Regions from separate parts of the Homo sapiens genome. Here region 1 is linked to region 2. Evidence: promoter capture Hi-C in 16 types of primary human blood cells and fetal thymus (Javierre and others, 2016). All regions are on one chromosome and are shown on one strand. Each heading gives the region's core, a stretch centred on a gene start or on the middle of the fragment in contact. The rest is flanking DNA. Distances are from core to core; before and after follow the strand shown. Region 1 holds the start of ZNF793 (zinc finger protein 793). Region 2 holds the start of ZNF260 (zinc finger protein 260).

Evidence for each region. The method cuts DNA at HindIII sites, captures the fragments that hold promoters and counts their contacts. A CHiCAGO score of 5 or more calls a contact.
Region 1: the fragment with the promoter of ZNF793 here is called in contact with the fragment with the promoter of ZNF260 in region 2 in 3 of 17 cell types (total CD8 T cells, non-activated CD4 T cells and naive CD8 T cells); the score reaches 6.5 in total CD8 T cells.

Annotation. Positions count from the first base shown.
Region 1 is chr19:37,504,182-37,509,506 of GRCh38, reverse strand. ZNF793 (zinc finger protein 793) reads right to left here and starts at 2,568. Exons shown (of 8, transcript NM_001013659.3): 1 at 2,541-2,568; 2 at 1,104-1,242. It overlaps ZNF793-AS1 (ZNF793 antisense RNA 1), which reads left to right and starts at 2,420. Exons shown (of 3, transcript NR_110723.1): 1 at 2,420-2,668; 2 at 3,467-3,661. RefSeq lists enhancers at 2,352-2,501, 2,067-2,858, 2,859-3,650. The HindIII fragment of the contact is 7,284 bases long and covers 1-3,427 here.
Region 2 is chr19:36,525,584-36,530,849 of GRCh38, reverse strand. ZNF260 (zinc finger protein 260) reads left to right here and starts at 2,579. Exons shown (of 3, transcript NM_001166037.2): 1 at 2,579-2,631. RefSeq lists enhancers at 1,852-2,051, 1,863-2,571, 2,202-2,831, 2,572-3,282. The HindIII fragment of the contact is 4,591 bases long and covers 1-4,111 here.

The sequences.
Region 1 (5,325 bases), core at 1,319-3,818, 980 kb before region 2:
TGCCTTAGCATCCAGCTGCCTTTATTTCTTAAGATGCTACAGGCATTGTGCTTTGTCTGAAGGTTACATAAAGATCAAACGTAATAATTTTTTAAAATTAAAATATTGTTTTGACATTGCACTTTTTCATTAATGGTCAAAATCTTATTTTCTAACTCAGAAATAGAAAGTCAAATACTGCATGTTCTCACTTATAAGATAATAATGTGTACACATGGATATAGAAAGCAGAATAATAGACACAGATGACTCTGAATGGAGGGAGGGTAGGAAGCGGGTAAGGGATGAGAAATTATCAGATTGGTACAATGTACATTATTCAAGTGATAGTTACACTAAAAGCCCAGGCTTCCCCACTGTGAAATATACCCATGTAACAAAACTGCACTTATATCCCCTAAATCTATTTTTTCAAATCTTATTTCCATTTTATTTGCAATCCCATCTCAGCCATTTTAATAACTATTAGTTCAATTTTAATTTCAGTGAGGAACAGTTTCTAAAAGTAGCTTACATTTTGTTTTGTGGCGGTTGTGGCTTTATCTGTCTTGAATTTTTTCTGCCAGGACTTTATAAGGAATTGATTAGTGGAGGTTAAAAATGGCTATGCCTAAAATATATAGGACAAGGCAAAAAGTTTCTCAGAATACAATAAATTCCAAATCTAGTTTCTCTTCCTTTGATAATTTAAGTTGAGCCTAGATAAAAGTATTTTCTAAACACTCTGTTTGCTCTTTCAGCCAAATCTTTTACATTATCATTTTATTTTATTTTGTTTATTTATATTTATTTATTTATCTTGAGACAGAGTCTCATTCTGTCACCCGGGCTGGAGTGCAGTGGTACAATCTCGTTTCACTGCAATCTCCACCTCTTGGGTTCAAACGATTCTCCTGCCTCAGCCTCCAGAGTAGCTGGGACCTCAGGCGCCCGCCACCACGCCCGGCTAATTTTTGTGTTTTTAGTAGAGGCAGGGTTTCACCATGTTGACCAGGCTAGTAATTCCTGACTTCAAATGATCCACCCACCTCAGCCTCCCAAAGTGCTGGGATTACAGGCATGAACCACTGCACACAGCCTACATTATCATTTTAGATACTTACTCAGTAAATTTGTTTTCTAACCACGGGCAAGGTCACATCCATCCCCGCTGTCACAGAGTCAGAATGGATTTCCAGAAACCAGCCTCACTCTTGGGATGCTGGCACAGATGCGTATGTCATTACCTTTGCCAGAAAGAGCCTTAAAGGAAACATTAGGAAAAAATATGCATTAGATCCCTAACAAGAATAGAAGCCACGTCTTTAGTAACATGTTACTTTAGATAAGTTTAGCACGCGATCCTTTCAAATTATTTTCATTATTGTAGAGAACAATAAAAAGGGTGTGGGTTCAAAAAAGAGTTTTCAGATGGGCCTTGGTGGAGAGGAACTGGCTGCTATTCAGCTAGGGAGTGTCACCTGAGTGAAATGTGTTCCCGCTATGCAGGCTTGCAGCCTCAAATCTGTGATTTTCCCATCCCCAATCTCCACATTTCAGGACCCTCAACACCAACCCCTATAAGTCTCCTAATCAGACACGCATAGTGCCCCCAATCACTGGCCTCCAATCTCCAACCCTCAGAGGTTTTCATAGTCACTGATATTCCCCTATGTTCAAATCTGACCAGGAGAGACTACAGGTCAGTAACTACAAAGAACACCGATCCGATCTGATTGCCAGTGAAATTACACAGCCCCCAATCATGAATCCACACTGATTGCCAATGATATCCCAACGACTGAGGATCAATTGTTGATTCTCACAGTCCCACTCCCACCCACAAGTGACAGTCCGAATCACTGAGCCTCATTGAGGCGTACCTTTAAGATAAGCACACTTGACTCTATTCTCCATTCCCTGATCTACAAAAGTCCAATCGTTAATACTCTCCGATCCTCCACCGATGATATGAAGTAAGTCTCAATCACCGATGGCCCAAAACATTTCTCCAAACATTCATCACCACTGACCTCCCTCATTTGAACCCCAAAGTTTCCACAATCACCAATTCCAGTACCCAAACTATTACTGCCCACAGAACTTAGAACCTCCGATCACTGATCCTCTCGGGCTCCGATCATTAACCTTAAAGATCTCTAAACCAGTGTCTGAAAAATCCCAACTGACCCCAGACCCATGAAGACCACTATTACTGACCCCATGCACCCTGAAAATCAAGACATTTCACAGAACTCGCATTTATTGATTCCCACACACTCCCAATCCATCTTCTTCAGAGACCGTGCCACTGACTCCCGCAAACCTCTGTCCGCCACCACTGAGGCCCCGCGAGGCTCAGACGCCGAATCTCTTAACCCTTCAGTTCCCTTGTCATTGACCCTCACGGGCACCCATAGCTGACCCAGTCGGCCACCGTAGTCGGCAGCTCACTATCCTCCACTAGTCCCAGGTTTGACCGTTTCTCAAACCGTGCCTTCCCATTTATGCTGCATCCGCGCCCTGAATCTGAAATTGGTCGTCCTGCCACGCCGCCTCACCGCGGTATAAGGTCGTCCCATCCTGAATGGCCGGTGCGCAGACTCAATTGCGACTTTGAGGCTGTCAGCCGCCACCCGGCAACCTTCCAGTGAACAGGATTCTGGGTTTCTCAAAGCTGTAATTGGAGGTATGATGGCGACGCCCACTTGACTCCTACCTGGGGCGGCCATGTTTAAAACTGTGCCGTAAAACGGATGATTAAGCCCTTTGCTAGACCAAAAGATAAGGCTATTTTAGGACAAGGAGAAGGAAGTGTCCCTGGATCCCTAAACAGAGATGTCGTCTCTGCTCTTAACTCAGCATCTCAGATGCCAAAACCTCCTGTGGCCAACATGGTGGCGCCCAGACATCAAAGCTGAGCTTTCTTTGTCTCCGGCAGCCTGGTAAGATGGCCGCGTACATTTTTACCGCTTCTTACGTGCAATGGGTGCAGCCTCTCCTAGGAGCTCCCCTATGGCAATGTGAAACTCTTTCTGAGCCAGCTCTAGGAGTTAGAGAGCAGCGAAGAGACTCGCTCTTAGGGAGACAGAGACAGCCTAAGGACGGGCGTGACTTCACGGAAAGGGCGGAGCCGCAAGGAAAGGGCGGGGCTGCCGCAGCGGGAAGAGATCAGAGTTCTTAGCGCATAATGGAAAGGAAATGTTGAAAGCAAGGTTTTTACCTAAGGAGGCTTGCCCGAGAAGCCGACCTGAGGAAAGAATGAGTGCAAGCAGTTTATTTGGTAGGTGGGGGATGGAGAAGTGAGACGGGAGCGATGGGAACGAATATACAGTGCATAGGTGAGCAGATTAGCTCTGGATCAATGAGGGCTCAGTCAGCTTGGGACCTCTGGGGGATTGTGTAGAAACCACTTCCAAGTTTTCACAACCACCAGGCCGATGAAGCTTACATATGTCTACACCATCTCTCTTCCTAATTGTTTTAGGGCCACTCCAGAGGTGTTAAAGCTCCAGCACTTCGAGCCTGCCTCGTGGGAAAGTCTTAGGCTGAGTCTGTAGGTGTCTGCAGTTAAGAAGCCAGCGGTCTGCATATGATTGCTCAGGGGTGGTGGCTGGGTCCAACAGCATTCACTACAGGCCTGCCTTGAATACCACCTAGCGCAGTGCTCCGCATATCACAGGTATTGGAACATCTCTAGAAAAGATTGCCTTGTCTTATGAAAATGGCTTTTTAAAAAAATCCTAATTCCAACTGGTCATCCTAGCAACTGATACAATAACTGACCTCAAAATGTTTCCCAATGATTCCTACCTCCTACTATTCACACTCTTATGTAGTTCCCTCCCACATTGTACCAGGGTTGGACTGTGAGACTAATAGAATGCAGTAGCAGTGATAGATGTCACTGCTGAGATTAAATATAATAAATGGCACCTTGAGTTCTGTCTTAAAGGCTGCTGCCCCCACTTTGAGAGAAGTTAGTTGCCATGTCATGAGGATACCGAGACAGCCTATGGAGAGGCCCAGGTAGCAAGGAACTAAGCCCTCCACCCAATAGCCTGGGAGTAGCTGGGGCCTTCCTATAACCAAGTGTATCACCCTTGGAAGCACATCTCCCAGCCCCAGTCAAACCTTGAGATGACAGCAGCCCCTGCCAATAGTTTGACTGCAACTGCGTGAGAGACACAGTCACAAGCACTCAGCTATAGCAGCTCCTATATTCCTCACCCTCAGAAAGTGTGTAAGATACTACATGTTTGTTGTTTTAAGCTTCTGAGTTTAGGGTAATTTGCTATGCATCAGTAGATAACTTCAATGCTGTGTTAAAATGCTACAATTGACATTTCTTCTTTTTTTTTTTTTTTGAGACGGAGTTTCGCTCTTGTTGCCTAGGCTGGAGTGCATTGGTGCAATTTCAGCTCACCGCAACCTCTGCCTCCCGGGTTCAAGCGATTCTCCTGCCTCAGCCTCCTGAGTAGCTGGGATTACAGGCATGCACCACCACGCCAGGCTAATTTTGTATTTTTAGTAGAGACGGGGTTTCTCCATGTTGGTCAGGCTGGTCTCGAACTCCCGACCTCAGGTGATCCGCCTGCCTCGACCTCCCAAAGTGCTGGGACTACAGGTGTGAGCCACCGCGCCCAACCCCATTTCTGAATTCTTTAAATAAAGTTCCTAAAGTTGCGAGATTATTCTGTCAGAGGAGATTATTACCAGTTTCCTCTTCTTCCTTGCGATGGAAAAATTAAAGGCCTATGGCTCTGCTAGATTTTTAAAATTTAACAAAGAGGTCAAGGGTCCTTGCTTCATTTGATTTAATATAAGTGGTTTATATGACAACACTTTGAAGTGATTATAGTAATTAATTTAAAATCACCATTTAGGCTGGGCATGGTAGCTCACACATGTAATTCCAGCACTTTGAGAAGCCAAGGTGGGCAGATCACCTGAGGTCAGGAGTTCAAGACCAACCCGGCCAACATGTTGGAACCCCGTCTCTACTAAAAATACAAAAATTAGCCGGCATGGTGGACGCCTATAATTCCAGCTGCTCGGGAGGCTGAGGTAGGAGAATCACTGAACCCAGGAGGTGGAGGTTTCAGTGGGCCAAGATTGTGCCATTGCACTCCAGCCTGGGTGAGACTCTGTCTCTAAAAAAACAAAAATAATAATATTGAAGTAAAATGAGTATTTATAAAGTGCCTATTAAATGCCTGATTGATCACTGGCCTGCTCACTTCAAGGGCTGTTCTTATTCTAGGATTAGACCAATAAAGCAGCCACAACTGGTAAATTGTCACTCATGAAGGCCGAGGGAAAGACAGCCTTTGAGGGTCTTTTGCT
Region 2 (5,266 bases), core at 1,330-3,829:
AAAAAATGCATGGTTATGAGATAGCTGCTCTGCATGTAGCACAATATCCACATTCCAGACAGAAAGGGGAAAAAGAATGTATGCACACTGAGCCTGCCCCACCCCATCCCCATACCTTTAAAGAACTGCCTGAGTGGCCAGGTGCAGTAGCTCATGCCTGTAATCCCAGCACTTTGGGAGGCCTAGGCAGGCAGATCACCTGAGGTCAGGAGTTCGAGACCAGCCTGGCCAACATGGTGGAAACCTCATCTCTACTAAAAACACAAAAATTAGCCGGGCATGGTGGCAGTCGCCTGTAATCCCAGCTACTCAGGAGCCTGAGGCAGGAGAACCGCTTGAACCCGGGAGGTGAAGGTTGCAGTGAGCTGAGATCACGCTACTGCACTCCAACTTGGGTGACTGAGTGAAGACTCCATTTCAAAAAAAAAAAAACTGTCTGAGAAGCCCAATCTAAGAACTTTAACTTACATCAACAGGAGAAGCTAGAACACGTAGAGTTTGGGTTTTTTGTTTGTTTTCTGTTTGTTTTTCTTTAAGCAGAGCAAACAAGATCAGGACTTTTATAGCAATAAAGAAGGGAATGGATATTGGGTTAGCCACATATGTGGCAAAACAATTAACAGTATCTACAATTTAATATATTCTCAAATAGCTTTCAATTATGTAGGAAGTTAAAATATCACTTAAAACATGAGATACATTTCAATATGTGCATATACAAATATGTGTATGTATATTTATGTATATGCATATATATCTACATATGTATATAGGTAAAACCAAACTAAGCATACATGATAAACTGAACCATTTGCTATATTAATAAGACAAAATTAGGAAGATTTTTCCAAAGAGTAACAGAAGATTCCAGGTTACTTGATAAGTCCTTTTAGGCATTTGCTAAGAAAAAAAAAATCAGCCGGGCGCAGTGGCTCATGCCTGTAATCCCAGCACTTTGGGAGGCCGAGGTGGACGGTTCACAAGGTTAGGAGTTCAAGACAAGCCAGGCCAACATAGTGAAGCCCCGTCTCTACTAAAAATACAACAACAAAAAAATTACCCGGGCGTGGTGGCCGGCACCTGTAATCCTAGCTACTCGGTAGGCTGAGGAAGGAGAATCGCTTGAACCTGGGAGGCGGAGGTTGCAGTGAGCCGAGATCGCGCCACTGCACACCAGCCCGGGCGACAGTGCGAGACTCCATCTCAAAAAAAAAAAAAATCAGGTCCTGGAAAAATAAAGCATTTCAGGAACAAAGAGAAAACTTCAAGGCACCTTAAACATGGCTTTTAGATATCACAACCGTTATTTCCTCTCCTCTGGGGAACCTCTCTTGGAGGACAGAAATGAGAAGGGAGACAATACACCTCCCCTAGGGCCCAAATGACAAGGCCAGAGCTTACTCTGCGTTCCCCTCCCCCGCCATGGGAGGGCTATCAGAGGAAACTGGGGCTTCCAACTCAAAACTCAGTGTCATAGAAAAATCCCCTTTACTATCACGGGGCCGAGCTGTCTTCTGCTCTCACATATGACTATGTGTGACATTTGGTCAAAGACACACAAACACAGTCTCAACTCCACGCACACCCAATGCTTCACAGTCACACACCCACCACTGTACACAAAGTCACAAGCACCCACCCTCCATACTCCCACACAAGGACACAGAGTCACAACTACATAAGTACAAAGCTCCCTATATCTGCACACAAACGAACATATGGTCACAGAGTTACAATCACACACCCACCGCGGGCACACAGTCACAGCTAACCCACACCCTCACACAGCGTTACACAGTCACACAATAACAGTCCTAACACAGGGACTCACGGGACACCCGCAGAGTCCTCCCCACATCCGTACACAAGGTGTCACACACAATCACAATCACACACACACTGTGCTAGGACATACATTCACAAAAACACAATTTCACAACCGCCCTTCTCGGCGCGTTCCGCCTGAACAGACTTAATACTCAGTCTCAACCTCCGCACCGGATTCCAGACGCTTCACCTCCAACCTCCTCCTGATCCTGTAGTCTCCGAGCCGACCCGCTCAGAGGCCAGCACCTGGGTCGCGTGCAGCTCTCCCCCGAGCCGCGGGAGTCGCGAGGGGAGGGGCCGAGGGCGCGGCGCCTTCTGGGAAATGTAGTTCAGCGCCACGCCCGCGATGAGCAAGATGGCGCCCGGCTTGAGCCCAGCCAAAGGGATTACCCTCATTCCCGAACCGTGTCTGAGAGTCTCCTGGGGTTCCTGGCTTAGTATCGCACCGTGGCTGTTACATAAAGTCAGCACAGCGTGTTTAAGCTGATGTTACACCACTACCCAATCCCAGGGATAGAGTAAACTAAGACTAAGGCCTTACACCCCTGCCCCGGCCAGGGAGACAGTCCCACAAGCTCTGGCGGAGGAAAAGTTCGCGCGAAAAGCTGACTCAAACCGCTGAACCTTCTGGGAAATGTAGTCTACCCTCAAAAGAGTGGCACGGAGGACGGGCCAAGATCTCTCGATTCCGTCCGGTTCTGAGTCGGGGCCTGGCCCAGCCCAGGAGACCTCTGGGAGCGCTGCCCGCGGAAGGAGTGCGCAGGCGCGGAATCTCCGACTTGCCATGGTCGTCTTTGTCTGCCGGTGAGTTGGGTTTCGGCCCTGTGGGACTTGGGTTTCTGGACACTGAAACGGGCCAGGGACGCTGGAGGGGAGGATTTGCAGTGCCTGCGACGGGGCTGGGAGTATGGAGGGGAGGAATCGCCTTCTATGATGTGCGGTGATCCGAGCTTGTGTGGCTGGGGGCAGGGGTACAGTTCGGGTGGGTTCGCGGGTGGGTGACCGAGAGTGTGAGGGGGTGTTGAGGGTGCAGAGTTAGTGAGAAACTGGTTCCAAGTTTGTGAGGATGGACGGATGGCTTTGTGAGGTAGTAACCTCTAAGCCTCACTTTTCTCATTTCTAAAATAATAAAGATGCGTTTTCTGGAAAATAGGAAACGGAAAAGGCTAAGGAATTGAGCGGATAAGTAATTTTAAAGGTGATTTTTTATATAAAAGCAGACCTATTGTGGAGTAGAAAACAAAATCAGCATTACCTTTCCATTATTTTTTTAAAGAGGCAAGATTTCGGAAAAACTTGTTACTGGGTGCCTGTACACCCAGTAGGCATTGACTTTTCTTAATACTTTGGAGAAACTTTGGTGCAGTTGCTTGGAGAAACCCTGAACTAAGGAATATCTTTAAGAGGTAGTTTCCAATAGCGCAGACGGCACAGAATTTGGAAGCTACTTGTCCTGCCTTTAGCGCAGAGGTCAAGAAACTCCCTAGTTCGTCAGTGAGGGCAGCAATCTCACTCCTAATTTAATCAGGGTTTCCCCAGCCTTTTGTAAATATAGGGGAAATTCTTTTCTTGTGTATACAAAGATAGAAGTATCCTATCTTCAAGTATCTTGTCACACTTATTCTTAACATATCAACATATTCAAGTATCTTGTCACACTTATTCTTAACATATTTTTCAATAAAATAAAAAAGTAACAGGGTTAATAGTTTTGAAATATACAGAAAAAGTAAAAGATACAAAGAAGACAGGACTTAGTTTCTGCTTTTCCCCTAACTATTGGTGTTTCTAAGTTTCTGGCCTTGATCATCTAAGTACTCCTATCAGCAACAACATTACACTGCCATCCATGGCTTCATCTAATACAGATGACTAATAAATGTCTGTTTCTGCTGGAGGCTTGTCCTGAGCTCCTAATCCATATTATCTAATTGCCCAATGTGCAGTCCACCTGGAAGTTACAGGGAACTTCAAGCTCTTTATGTCTAAAGGGCTCCTTCTTCCTGCAGTCTGCCTCCATCTATTTCCCCTCTGTACCTGTTTCAGCAATTTATAGCACTGTCTAGCCAGGTTCTAAGGCACTTACATCTTAGAGAAGGCTTCTAAGTAAGTTTGATCCTTTGATTTGTTATATCCCATTACAAATTGTAAACCAAGGTTTCTCAGCACACATAATCATAAATGTATATGTTTGCTGAATCAGTGAATGAACAGTCAGCCCTCTGTGTCTGTAGGCTCTGCTTCCACGGATTCAACAAACATGAATCATAACTGTTGTTAAGCTTGCGATGGTTGTATCTGTACGTGTACAGATTTTTTTTTCTTGTCATGATTCCCTAAACAATACAGTATAACAACTATTTACCAGACATTTACGTTGTATTACGTATGATAAGTAATCTGGAGATAATTTTAAAGTATATGGGAGGATGTGCATAGGTTATATGTAAATATACTTCCATTCACTTTATTTTTATTTTTTTGAGATGGAGTCTCACTCTGTCACCCAGACTGGAGTGCAGTGGTGCAATCTCGGCTCACTGCCACCTCTGCCTCCTGGGTTCAAGCGATTCTCCTGCCTCAGCCTCCCAAGTAGCTGAGGTACAGGTGTGTGCCACCATGCCCAGCTAATTTTTTTATTTTTAGTAGAGACAGGGTTTCACCATCTTGGCCAGCCTGGTCTCGAACTCCTGACCTCAGGTGGTCAGCCTGCCTCAGCCTCCCAAAGTGCTGGGATTACAGGCGTGAGCCACCATGCCTGGCTTTATATTTGAAGTATAAGGGACTTGAGCATCTGCAGATTTTGGTATCCACAGTGATCCTGGAACCAATCTCCTGTGATATCAAGGGAAGATTATTATTATAGGACACTTACTATATTTAACTTCTCCTAGTTAATCTAAGTAAAATATTAGTCCTCTAAATTTTTTAGAGCTCTGACCTATAAATACCATCAGAATAATTTCCTGTATTTTTTTCCATATCACTCAAGGTTGGTTACTTCAGACTTATGAGAAAAGTGTTATGGGGAAAAATTATATGCAAAGATGTGACTTCACTCAGGAGCAAGGTCACAAGTGACACCTGCTCGAAGGAACCTATACAGGTTGTGATTGTGGATAACTCTGGCATCTTAGTCTCTCATAGTTTCTCTGTGTAACCTAAATTCTGAAAATAAGGTCCCTTCTGTTTCTCATTTTTGAAATGTTTAGAGCTTTTTTTTTTTTTTCCTTCCTTGAGATGGAGTCTCCACTGTCGCTTAGGCTGGTGTATAGTGGCGTGACCTTGGTTCAGTGCAACCTCTGCCTCCTGGCTTCAAGTGATTCTCTTGCCTCAGCCTCCTGAGTAGCTGGGACTACAGGCATATGCCACCACGCCTGGCTAATTTTTGTATTTTTAGTAGAGACAGGGTTTCACCATGTTGGCCAGGCGGGTCTCG